Linked DNA regions of Homo sapiens: regions 2 and 3 are each linked to region 1. The links are contacts of gene promoters, found by promoter capture Hi-C in blood cells and fetal thymus (Javierre and others, 2016). All regions are on one chromosome and are shown on one strand. Each heading gives the region's core, a stretch centred on a gene start or on the middle of the fragment in contact. The rest is flanking DNA. Distances are from core to core; before and after follow the strand shown.

Region 1 (3,374 bases), core at 875-3,374:
ACAGTTATTTGCATGTGACAGGTCTTAGGTAGCTCACCATGACATTTTCAATCTGATAGAAGTTCTCAGGACAGGAAATTCTACAATGTTTTTCAGTAGCTGCTTTTTGGTCCTTTGCTCTAACTTGAGCATGGAAATACAAAGCAGTTTGGATAAGTCTAAATCTACTGATTAACATTTGACTATTTACTCATAGATTACCACTCAATCATGGAATAACTTTAAAACCATACCTTTGTATGTGCTTGACAGTCACCCTATACTTAGGAGGTATCCTCATTTTACAGATGAGAAAACTGGCCTAGACCAGTTAAGAAACTTACTGAAACCCACATGGTCTAGTAACTTACCAGAGCAAAAATTCAAGTCCAGATTGCCTCTAAAACCCTGTCGTGCTATACTGTCAACTGAGAAGTGAGATTCAAATCCAAGTAGTGTGCCCCGCCCCCCACCATTACCTACAATCTTTTCTTCTTTGGCTTCTTGAGATGTAAGAGGGTTTCTCTTTAATTAAAAAAGTATTGACTAGGTAATGTAGTCATGGGTTCAAAATTCAAAGGGCACAAAAAGATACGTGAAGAATTTTTTCTGCCCTTGTCCCTCAGCCATCCAGTTCCCCTACCTGGAGGCATTCACTCATCATTTGTCTGTAAGTTCTCCCAAACATATTTTGTGCATATACAAGCAAACACACATATATATGTTTTTAAGTGACTAGAGCTCCCCTTTTTATGCAAATAGAAGCATAGTATACATATCGTTCTGCACCTTGCTATTGCACTAACTATATTTTGGAGATTGTTTAGTAGCAGTTCATAGAGAACTTTGTCATCTTGGTAACTGCTGCATAGTTTTTCATTGAATGATACATTTTCATAGTATGTTCTTGGATATTTTCATTTCTGTTTTCATAAACAATGTTGCAAGGAATGATAGTAGGTTAGAGGATATATAGTATTGAGGATTCTATTCATAACTGAATTGCTGCTTTAAAGGGAATGTACATTTATGATTTTAGTAGTATCCTCATTTGCCCCCAATAGATGTTGTACCAATTTATATTCCTACCACTAGTGTATTGAGAGCGCCCGTTTCCCCACAATCTCAATAAAACAAGTGTGTTATCAAACTTTTGGATCTTTCCCAATCTGTTAGGTGAAAAATGGTAGTTTAATGTACTTTTAAAAATAAACTTTAAGTTCTAGAACAGTTTTAGATACAGAAAGGTTGCATAGTACAAAGTTCCACATACGTACAACTCAGTTTCCCTTGCATAACTCTGATACATTTGTCACAGCTAACGAACCTTGTTATTAGCTAAAGAGCATAGTTTGTTCACATTTCCTTAGTTTTTACCTCATGTCTTTTTTTCTTTTCCAGGATCCCATCCAAGATACTGCATTACTTTAGTCATCATGACTCCTTTGGTTCCTTTTGGCTGTGACAGATTCTTGTGTTTTTGATGACCTTGCTAGTTTTAAGGAGTACTGGTAGTCAGTGTACTTTAAAATTTGTGAGATTGGACATCTTTTCATACACTTAAAGACATTTGCATTTCCATTTCTGGAAACTAAGAGCCTATGCTTTTAACCACTATACTATACCTCTTTCTTGATTCACCATAATTATCAATAAAACATATGTGGGCCTGAACATACACAGACTTCTGATTCTGAGTGGAGAAAACTCTCAAGTCTCTGTTACAGATAGAGGAGAACCATTAGTACAGGTGATATAGTCAGACTCGTGTCTGATGACTCTGGCTACATCGTGAAGGATGAAGCAGAGGCTCGACTGGAAACGGTAGGTAGGCTGGATAAATCCTTGAAAGAAAAGCAGTGTTGATAAGTTCAAAGGAAATTACAGAAGAGCCAGGAATTAGTGGTAATGGATGAGAGAATCAAGAAGTCAAAGGTGACTCGTTTTATGAGCTGGATATTTTGGGTCTTCTTTTGAACCTAAATGAGAAATTCAAAATAAATATTTGGACAATGTTCAGCATACCTGTCACTTGAGATCTACTTTCTCTTTCTGTTGCCATAGCTCTGTGCTACTACAATTCCCAGAGCCCCATGCTCCATCACAATACCCTTAGAAGTCCGCCGCGCGGAGTTCTGGGACTTGAGGTCCGCGGCCTATTTACCCAAGTTGGAGGTAGGGGCCTGTGGAAACATGAAGAGGTAAGGACTTGTCTGAAGAGCAGGCGGCAAGGGGAGCTTTGTTCTACCTTTTCTTTTGAAAATGGCTTCCATTGCTTTCTGGTTTGGGTATTGCACGTTCTCAGGATGCGGTTTCGTGGGAGCGGGAACACGACAAAGGAGACGGGAGGAGGGGAGACGGGCTGAACAGGCCTGCAGAGCGAAGTTCAGGAAGGGCTGCCACCGGGGCCGGCTGCTGTGGGAATGCCCTCCCGGCACGGGCCCCGGGAGCTGGCCGGGTGCTGCGGCTTCGTCGTTTCACCCGGACCCAGCTGGGCAAAAGGGTTTGAGGCTGACAAATTCCCGGCGCCGGAGATGTAGGTACCTCGGGCCAGCCCCTCGCCGTTCTCCCCTACCTCCACCTCCACCTGAGAAAGGCTCGGGGCGGGCGCATTTATTTGCAACGTCTGTGTGTTAAAGACTACTTGCTTGGGCCCCGAAACCATGTAGCGCTTTCGAATCTTAAAGTAAGGGAGCGGTACTTTGTTTCTAAATGTGGAAGGACAGCACCAAAGCGGTTCGATTTATGGGGTGGGGGGAGGGGAGGTGGAAGGCATTGCTGGGCTCAGTTCCCCTTACTTGTCCTGAGGTAAATGGCCGCTTGAGCCTAAATGGCCTGAGCCTCCTAACTATTGACGGGCTTAAATTAATTTTAGATTCACTCTGCAAGTAGAATCATCACTCTGGAATAGTGCAGTGCATTTAAAATTCTTACTGATATGCTTTCCTGCACTGTCAGTTCCTTGCATCTTTTAAAAAACCGTTTATGACTTTGCCTGCCTGAAACTAACCTTTAATATTTTTTTATGATATCTCCTCCATGCGAAATAATGTATAATGTATATATACAGCTTAAAGAATAATAAAGGTTCGCATCCACTACAAGCTTAAGAAATAGGACATTGCCAGTCCCTTAGAAGTCTACTGTGTCTCTTCCCTCCCTTCGTTCCCCCCTGAGGTGACCACTATCCGGAATTTTGTGTTATTAATTCCCTTGCTTTTAAAAAAGCAAATAGTTTCTAGTACATATGAATTTATCCCTAAACAAAATGTTCCTAGTCATGTATTTGAAGTATTCCTGATACTTCATGCTGGCGTTTCTATTGTAAAAGCTACTAGACTCAATGTGGCTAAAACAATACTGACTTTCCCTTTCCCAAATCATTTATTCCATCT
Region 2 (3,468 bases), core at 1-2,500, 530 kb before region 1:
AGATAATGCAGGTAGGAGGTCCCAGCAGTTAATCTCAATCCGTCTTTCCCCAGTTCGGATAAGCTCTAATATACCTGATGTGGGATGTAGAAAGCTACACTGGAGCAAGCCGGGTCTTCTGCTGAATTTGTCATCAAATACCAAGGGGAAACAAGGGTGGGGTGGATTTTATTCTCAAAAAGCCTCAGAAGTTACTCTATTATAAAGGGACATGGCTGAATAGGTAAGAAACGGATTCTCCATTGTGAGTTCTCCTGATGGCTTCTGCAAGGATCATAGAGATGTCAATCACCTAGAAAGGCAAGAAAGGAAATCAGGTTACTATCATATGGTCAGAGATGACTGGCCAATTTGCAGACACTGATGAGCAGCCAGGCAAGTGCCCTTCCTCTTAAAACTGCAACACTGTGCTGTTTCCCTGTCATGAGGCTGCACTCAGCTATTCTTCATAACATTTTTAAGATAGCCACTTACGGCTGGGCACGGTGGCTCACACCTGTTAATCCCTGCACTTTGGGAGGCCAAGGTGGGCAGATCACTTGAGGCCAGGAGTTGGAGACCAGGCTGGCCAACATGATGAAACCCCGTCTCTACTAAAAATACAAAAATTAACCAAGCATGGTGTGGCACACGCCTGTAATCCCAGCTACTCGGGAGGCTGAGGCATGAGAATTGCTTGAACCTGGGAGGTGGAGGTTGCGGTGAGCCAAGATCGTGCCACTGCACTCCAGCCTGGGTGACAGAGCGAGACTCTGTCTCAAAACAACAAAACAAAACAAAACAGCCACTTAGGAAAGAGTCAAAATGCTAACTGAGAAAAAACGCTGACTTTGGTTCATCAAAATGGCTGGGCACTGTGGCTCACACCTGTAATCCCAGCACTTTGGGAGGCCAAGGTGGGAGGATCACTTGAGCCCAGGAGTTTGAGTCCAGCCTGGGCAATATGGTGAAACTCTGTCTCTACAATAAAACAAAAATTAGCCAGGCGTGGTTGTGGTGTATGCCTGTAGTCCCAGCTACTTGTGAGGCTAAGGCAGGAGGATCGCTTGAGCCTGGGAGTTTGAGGCTGCAGTGAGTCAAGATCAGGCCACTGCACTCCAGCTTAGGCAACAGAGTGAGACCCTGTCTAAAAAAAAATGGTGGTAGGTTCGCATTTAAAAATCCTTCTGAATAGGCTGGGCGTGGTGGCTCATGCCTGTAATCCCAGCAGTTTGGGAGGCCGAGGTGGACGGATCACCTGAGGTCAGGAGTTCAAGACCAGCCTGAGCAACATGGAGAAACCCCATCTCTACTAAAAATAAAAAATTAGTCAGGCGTGGTGGCACATGCCTGTAATCCCAGCTACTTGGGAGGCTGAGGCAGGAGACTCACTTGAACCTGGGAGGCTGAGGTTGCGGTGAGCTGAGATCGTGCCATTGCACTCCAGCCTAGGCAACAAGAGCAAAACTCCATCTCAAAAACAAAAAACAAACAAACAAAAAAACCTTATGAAGGAAAAAAAAAAGACTAAGTTGAAAAAAAATCCTTAAGAATGACATCACCTGTAATCTCAGCACTTTGGGAGGCTGACACAGGAGGATAGCTTGAGGCTAGGAGTTTGAGACCAGCCTGGGCAACATAGGGAGACCCCGTCTCTACACATAATATCAAAAAAATTAGCTGGGCATGGTGGTGCACGCCAGCCACTTGGGAGGCTGAGACAGGATGATTGCCTGAGCCTTCAAAGTTGAGGCTGCAGTGAGCTTTGATTGCGCACTCCGGCTGGGGCAACAGAGCAAGATCCTATCTCAAAAAAAAAAAAAAAAAAGATGATAATCCTCCAATTACACATATTAATTTCAAAAAGCTCATAGATTAATGTGAACATTTTTAATTAAGCAAGGCCTTGTTCTTTTAGTGCAAGAGCACTCAAACTTTAGTTTCTAACAATTACTTGGGGAATTACTTTAAAATACTGGTTCCAGGACCTCTGGTTTTATAGGTCTTAGATGGAGCAAAGGAATCTACATTTTAATAAGAACCTTAGGTCCAGAGCACACTGAGAAACACTAAAGTTGGTAGAAGTGTACAATCAGTTTAAAGGTTTCACATTATATCTACAGGGGCCGATAGTTAACAGACAAACACATACTGTAAAGTATGGACTTGAAAACTTTAATTTGCATCAGAATCACTGGGAGAACCTGTTAAAATGTAGAATCTTAGGCTCCATCTTCCAGAGATTCTGAGGTGTAGCAATTTAAACTTTTAAACAGGTGATTTTCCCAAGGCTTGGCAGTTTGAAAAGAAAAAAAAAAAGGAAAAGAAACAGGTGATTGTTAACTTTTGGATCACAAATTCTGATGACAAGACTAAATCCTTCAGACCAAAGAAAGATATCTTCAGAATCCAGAGACCTAATTCAACGTAAGTAACCACCTCCTAAACACTTAGAAAAGTCTTGTTTTGCACAAATCTCATCCTCACCTGTATTTTGGAGCAATGCTTCATCTTGTCCTCCTGAGGTATGGTATTGGTGACTACTACTGCCTCAAAGCATGCGTTGTTGATGCGAGAAATAGCAGGACCGGAGAAGATTCCATGAGTCAAGATGGCATAAACTCTGGTGGCGCCAGCTGAGAGAAGTCTAGAGGGAAAAAATGTTGATTTGGATTCATCTTACTTGTCATTGCAGAATTTTAGTCAGGGAGGAGTATATTAGCCTGCTTAGGCTTCCACAACAAAATATCATATGAAAAAAAATAAAAAAATAAAAAATATTATAAGGCACAGTGGGTTAGGGGAAAAATTTTTTTAAGGAAAAGAAAATACCATAGAATGGGTGGCTTAAATAACAGAAACAAATTTTTCACAGTTCTGGAGGCTTAAAGTCCAAGATCAAGGTGCAGACAAAGTAGGTGTCATGCTGAGGCCTCTTCTCTTGTAGGTGGCCACCACTTTGCTGTGTGCTCAGATGACCTCTTTGTGTGTGAGTGTGAGTGTGTGTGCACGCATGCGTGCGCATGGGGAAATGCTGGCCAGTTCTCCAGCATTCTCTTCTTATAAGGGCATTCATCCCATTGTAAGGGCTCTGCCCTAGTGACCTCATCTAATCCTAAATACGTGCCCCTCAAGGTAACTCCAAATACCATCACATTGGGGTTAGGCCTCAACATATATGAATTTGGGGAGGACACAATTCAGTCCATATCGAGAAAGAACTGCACTAAGAACTTATCTGAATAGGTCTGAATTAGTGTCAAAGGACTCTGGCATAGACTGTTGCACTTAACAAAATCCACTTCCTCTTCTTTCTGGGCACATAGCTGAACTACATTTCCCAGCCTCCCTCACATAGTTCAGTGTGGCCATGTGGCTTAATTCTGGCTATTAAAATGTGGGCAGACACAATGTACATCAGTTTTTGGTTGGACTTAACAAAAATCTTCCAGGGGTGATCCTCTGTGTTCTTTTCCTTTTCTGGCTGGC
Region 3 (3,474 bases), core at 812-3,311, 550 kb before region 1:
TTTCCTTTCTCTGCCAGCACTAGGCATCTCCACATTCCTCTGGCCATTGCTCTGACTGCTAGGTTCTCGGGCCTCTGCACCTTCATCGTTATTATTAGCATCGTTATATCAGCTACCACTGATTGAGGGCCTGTACGGTACTGGGTGCTTCCACCCTTTCACCATTTAATAATCACTTCATGAGGTAATCCTAGCTGATGCTTATCTCACACTTACTATTGTAAGTGCTTTGCACATCTCATTTAATCCTCAACAGTTTTGAGATGGGTCCCTGTACTGTTTTACAGCCAAGGAAACTGAAGCACAGAGAGGTTAAACACTGTGGCCAAGGTCATACTCTACTAAGTGGGAGAATCAGGATTTGAACCCAAGTCCGCTACACTTGAATCGATGATCTTTCTGCTGGACTGCCTCCATTTCCCCCCAGACAATCCTGAAAACTGGATACCTTCTATCAGTTTTTTCACTGGAGAATAGGCTAGCTAACTTGGACCTCAGAGGAGAGGACAGCTCCCTGGAGAATCTGGAAGAGGCAGGAGCGAAATTTGCTCAGTTGCAGGGATTCCCCAGGACTCCCTGGGAGTCAGGCCACACCCAGTTGCTTCTGCTGGGCTGGCGGTCTGTCTGCTCTGGAGTGGGGTGGGGTGGTGAGGTGCACACCACACACACACACACACACGCACGCACGCACGCACGCACACACGGAGGGAGGGGGGAAAGGGAGATGGGGTAGGTGAGGAAACTCACCGTCCCAGAGCTCTCTTGCCCCCTCTTCAGGCAATAAGCTCTCACTGCTGTTCCTGTCCAGGTGACCAATTTTTGCCATAGGAGGCCCTATTTTTAGACCTCAAAACCCACCACCAATGTCTGGGCTGCAAGCTCAGTGGACCAGGCTGCTGCACGGGCTGTTTTGTTTTTGTTTTCGTGGTGTTTTAAAATTTTTTACCATTTGAATCTCTTTTTTTTTTTTTTGAGATGGAGTCTCTTTCTGTCACCAGGCTGCAGTGCAGTGGCACGATCTTGGCTCACTGCAACCTCCACCTCCTGGGTTCAAGTGATTCTCCTGCCTGCCTCAGCCTCCCAAGCAGCTGGGACTACAGGCGCATGCCACCATGCCTAGCTTTTTTTTTTTTTTTTTTTTTTTTTGAGACAGAGTCTCACTCTGTTGCCCAGGCTGGAGTGCAGTGGCACGACTTCAGCTCACTGCAAGCTCCCCCTCCCAGGTTCATGCCATTCTCCTGCCTCAGCCTCCCAACTAGCTGGGACTACAGGCACCCGCCACCACGCCCAGCTAATTTTTTTTTTTTTTTTGTATTTTTAGTAGAGACGGGGTTTCACCGTGTTAGCCAGGATGGTCTTGATCTCCTGACCTCATGATCCGCCCCCCTCAGCCTCCCAAAGTGCTGGGATAACAGGCGTGAGCCACCGCGCCCAGCCTAAAAATTTTTGCCATTTGAATCATTTTTAAGTGCATAATTCAGTGACAATAAGTACATTTACATTATTCTGCAACAATTACCACTCTCCACCTCCAGAACTCTTTTCATGTTGCAAAACTCCATACCCATTAAACAATAATCCCCCCCACAAACCCGCCCCCAGAGTGAGGGTAGAGAATATACCCATTCTCCCCTCCCCCTAGCCCCTAGTAATCACCATTCTATGTTCTGTCTCTTATGAATTTGACTATTCTAGGTCCCTAATATAAGCAGAATCATGCAATATTTGTCCTTTTGTGTCTGGCTTATTCAGTTAGCATAATCTTCATGTTGTAGCATGTGCCAGAGTTTCTTTCCTTTTAAGGCTGAGTAATTGTCTACTGTATGGATATACCACATTTTGTTTATCCATTCATCCATTGATAGACACTTAAGGGTTGTTTCTACCTTTGGACTATTGTGAAGAATGCTGCTGTAAACACATTGGTGTACAAGTATCTGTCCGAGCCTCTGCTTTCAATTCTTTGGGGTATATACCTAGGAGTGGCTGTTGGGGCCGTTTGCCCATTCCCGAGGCAGCCTAGTGGTCTGGCCCCCCTCAGAAGAAAGTTGCCTTCCCAGCTTTCTGCCCCAGCTCTGCTTTGTCTCTGTGCACACAACAGCACCTCTTGGAAAAGCACCTTCTTTCACCCCACCCTACCCCCCGACCCCGTCACCAATGAGTCCCAGCACCAACTGAGTGGTGACTGGTGACTGGTGAGCCTCTCTGGGCTTCCTGTTCTATTTTTCTACCCAGTGTACTTATGGTCACATTCCCTCCCCTTGAAGACCATGTCAGTCTCTGGTTGCCCTCTTGTCAGCTCCCCAAGAGCCAGGACCACAGCCGCAATGGACTTTTAAAAGTGGGAGACAGGGCCGGGCGCTGTGGCTCACGCCTGTAATCCTAGCACTTTGGGAGGCCGAGGCGAGCTGATCACCTGAAGTCAGGAGTTTGAGACCAGCCTGGCCAACATGGTGAAACTCCATCTCTACTAAATATACAAAAATTAGCTGGGCGTGGTGGCGTGTGCCTATAATCACAGCTACCTGGGAGGCTGAGGCAGGAGAATCACTGGAACGTGGGAGGCAGAGGCTGCAGTGAGCCAAGATCATGCCACTGCACTCCAGCCTGGATGACAGAGCAAGACTCCATCTCAAAAAACAAACAAACAAAAAACTGGGAGACAGTGTGGTACAGCAGTTAAGGGCAGGGGCTCTGGAGCCAGACTGCAAGGGTTTGAATGCTGCCTTGTCTAACACCAGGCAAGCTACTTGACCTTGCCATGCCTGTGTCTCCATCTGTAAAATGGGGATAATAATAATATTTATCTCAAGTGGTTATTAGGAATTAACTGATATACACAAAGCCATCAATGCAGTACCTGGTACATAGTAACGGCTAAATAGCCAGACACAGGCACAGTGGCTCATTCCTGTAATCCCAGCACTTTGGGAGGCCGAGGCAGGTGGATCACTTGAGGTCAGGAGTTCAAGACCAGCCTGGCCAACATGGTGAAACCCTGTCTCTACTAAAAATACAAAAATTAGCCGGGCGTGGTGCTGCGCACCTGTAATCCCAGCTACTCGGGTGGCTGAGGCAGGAGAATCACTTGAACCCAGGAGGCGGAGGCTGCAGTGAGCCCAGATCGCGCCACTGCACTCTAGCCTGGGTGACAGAGCAAGACCTTGTCTCAAAAAATTAATAGCCTAAATAAATGGCAGCTGTTATTTGTTAAGTCCTCTTTCCCTTGCTGCTTCTTTGACAAAAAACATGAGGTAGATAGTGGGAGCCACCTCAGCATGTTTTTCAGGGAGGATTGCTGATGAATTTGCAGACTTCCCTCCCCACTACCCCCCTTCTCCCTGTTGATAGTCTTCTTGGGTCATTGCCCCTCCACCTGTGTGAAATGCTTTTATGAAGTTAGTGTAAACAATATAAAGAATACAATGTTTGTTTTCTTCACTCTGCAGCTCCACACATTGTAGTGATCGTGTG

What was found. Contacts are between HindIII fragments. The CHiCAGO score rates a contact against its expected background, and 5 or more counts as called.
Region 2: a fragment that was not itself captured here is called in contact with the fragment with the promoter of RBM41 in region 1 in 1 of 17 cell types (total B cells); the score reaches 5.7 in total B cells.
Region 3: a fragment that was not itself captured here is called in contact with the fragment with the promoter of RBM41 in region 1 in 1 of 17 cell types (monocytes); the score reaches 7.6 in monocytes.

What each region holds. Positions count from the first base shown.
Region 1 is chrX:107,117,572-107,120,945 of GRCh38, reverse strand. It overlaps RBM41 (RNA binding motif protein 41), which reads left to right and starts at 2,124. Exons shown (of 8, transcript NM_001324242.2): 1 at 2,124-2,180. The coding sequence starts at 2,173. RefSeq lists enhancers at 2,171-2,360, 2,741-2,820. The HindIII fragment of the contact is 8,519 bases long and covers 1-3,086 here.
Region 2 is chrX:107,646,764-107,650,231 of GRCh38, reverse strand. It overlaps PRPS1 (phosphoribosyl pyrophosphate synthetase 1), which reads right to left. Exons shown (of 7, transcript NM_002764.4): 6 at 2,467-2,626; 7 at 1-292. The coding sequence ends at 200. Among named protein-coding and RNA genes, the nearest start is that of PRPS1, 20 kb to the right of the region's middle. The HindIII fragment of the contact is 8,666 bases long and covers 1-3,468 here.
Region 3 is chrX:107,670,352-107,673,825 of GRCh38, reverse strand. No RefSeq gene overlaps it. Among named protein-coding and RNA genes, the nearest start is that of PRPS1, 44 kb to the right of the region's middle. RefSeq lists a silencer at 639-688. The HindIII fragment of the contact is 4,714 bases long and covers 1-3,474 here.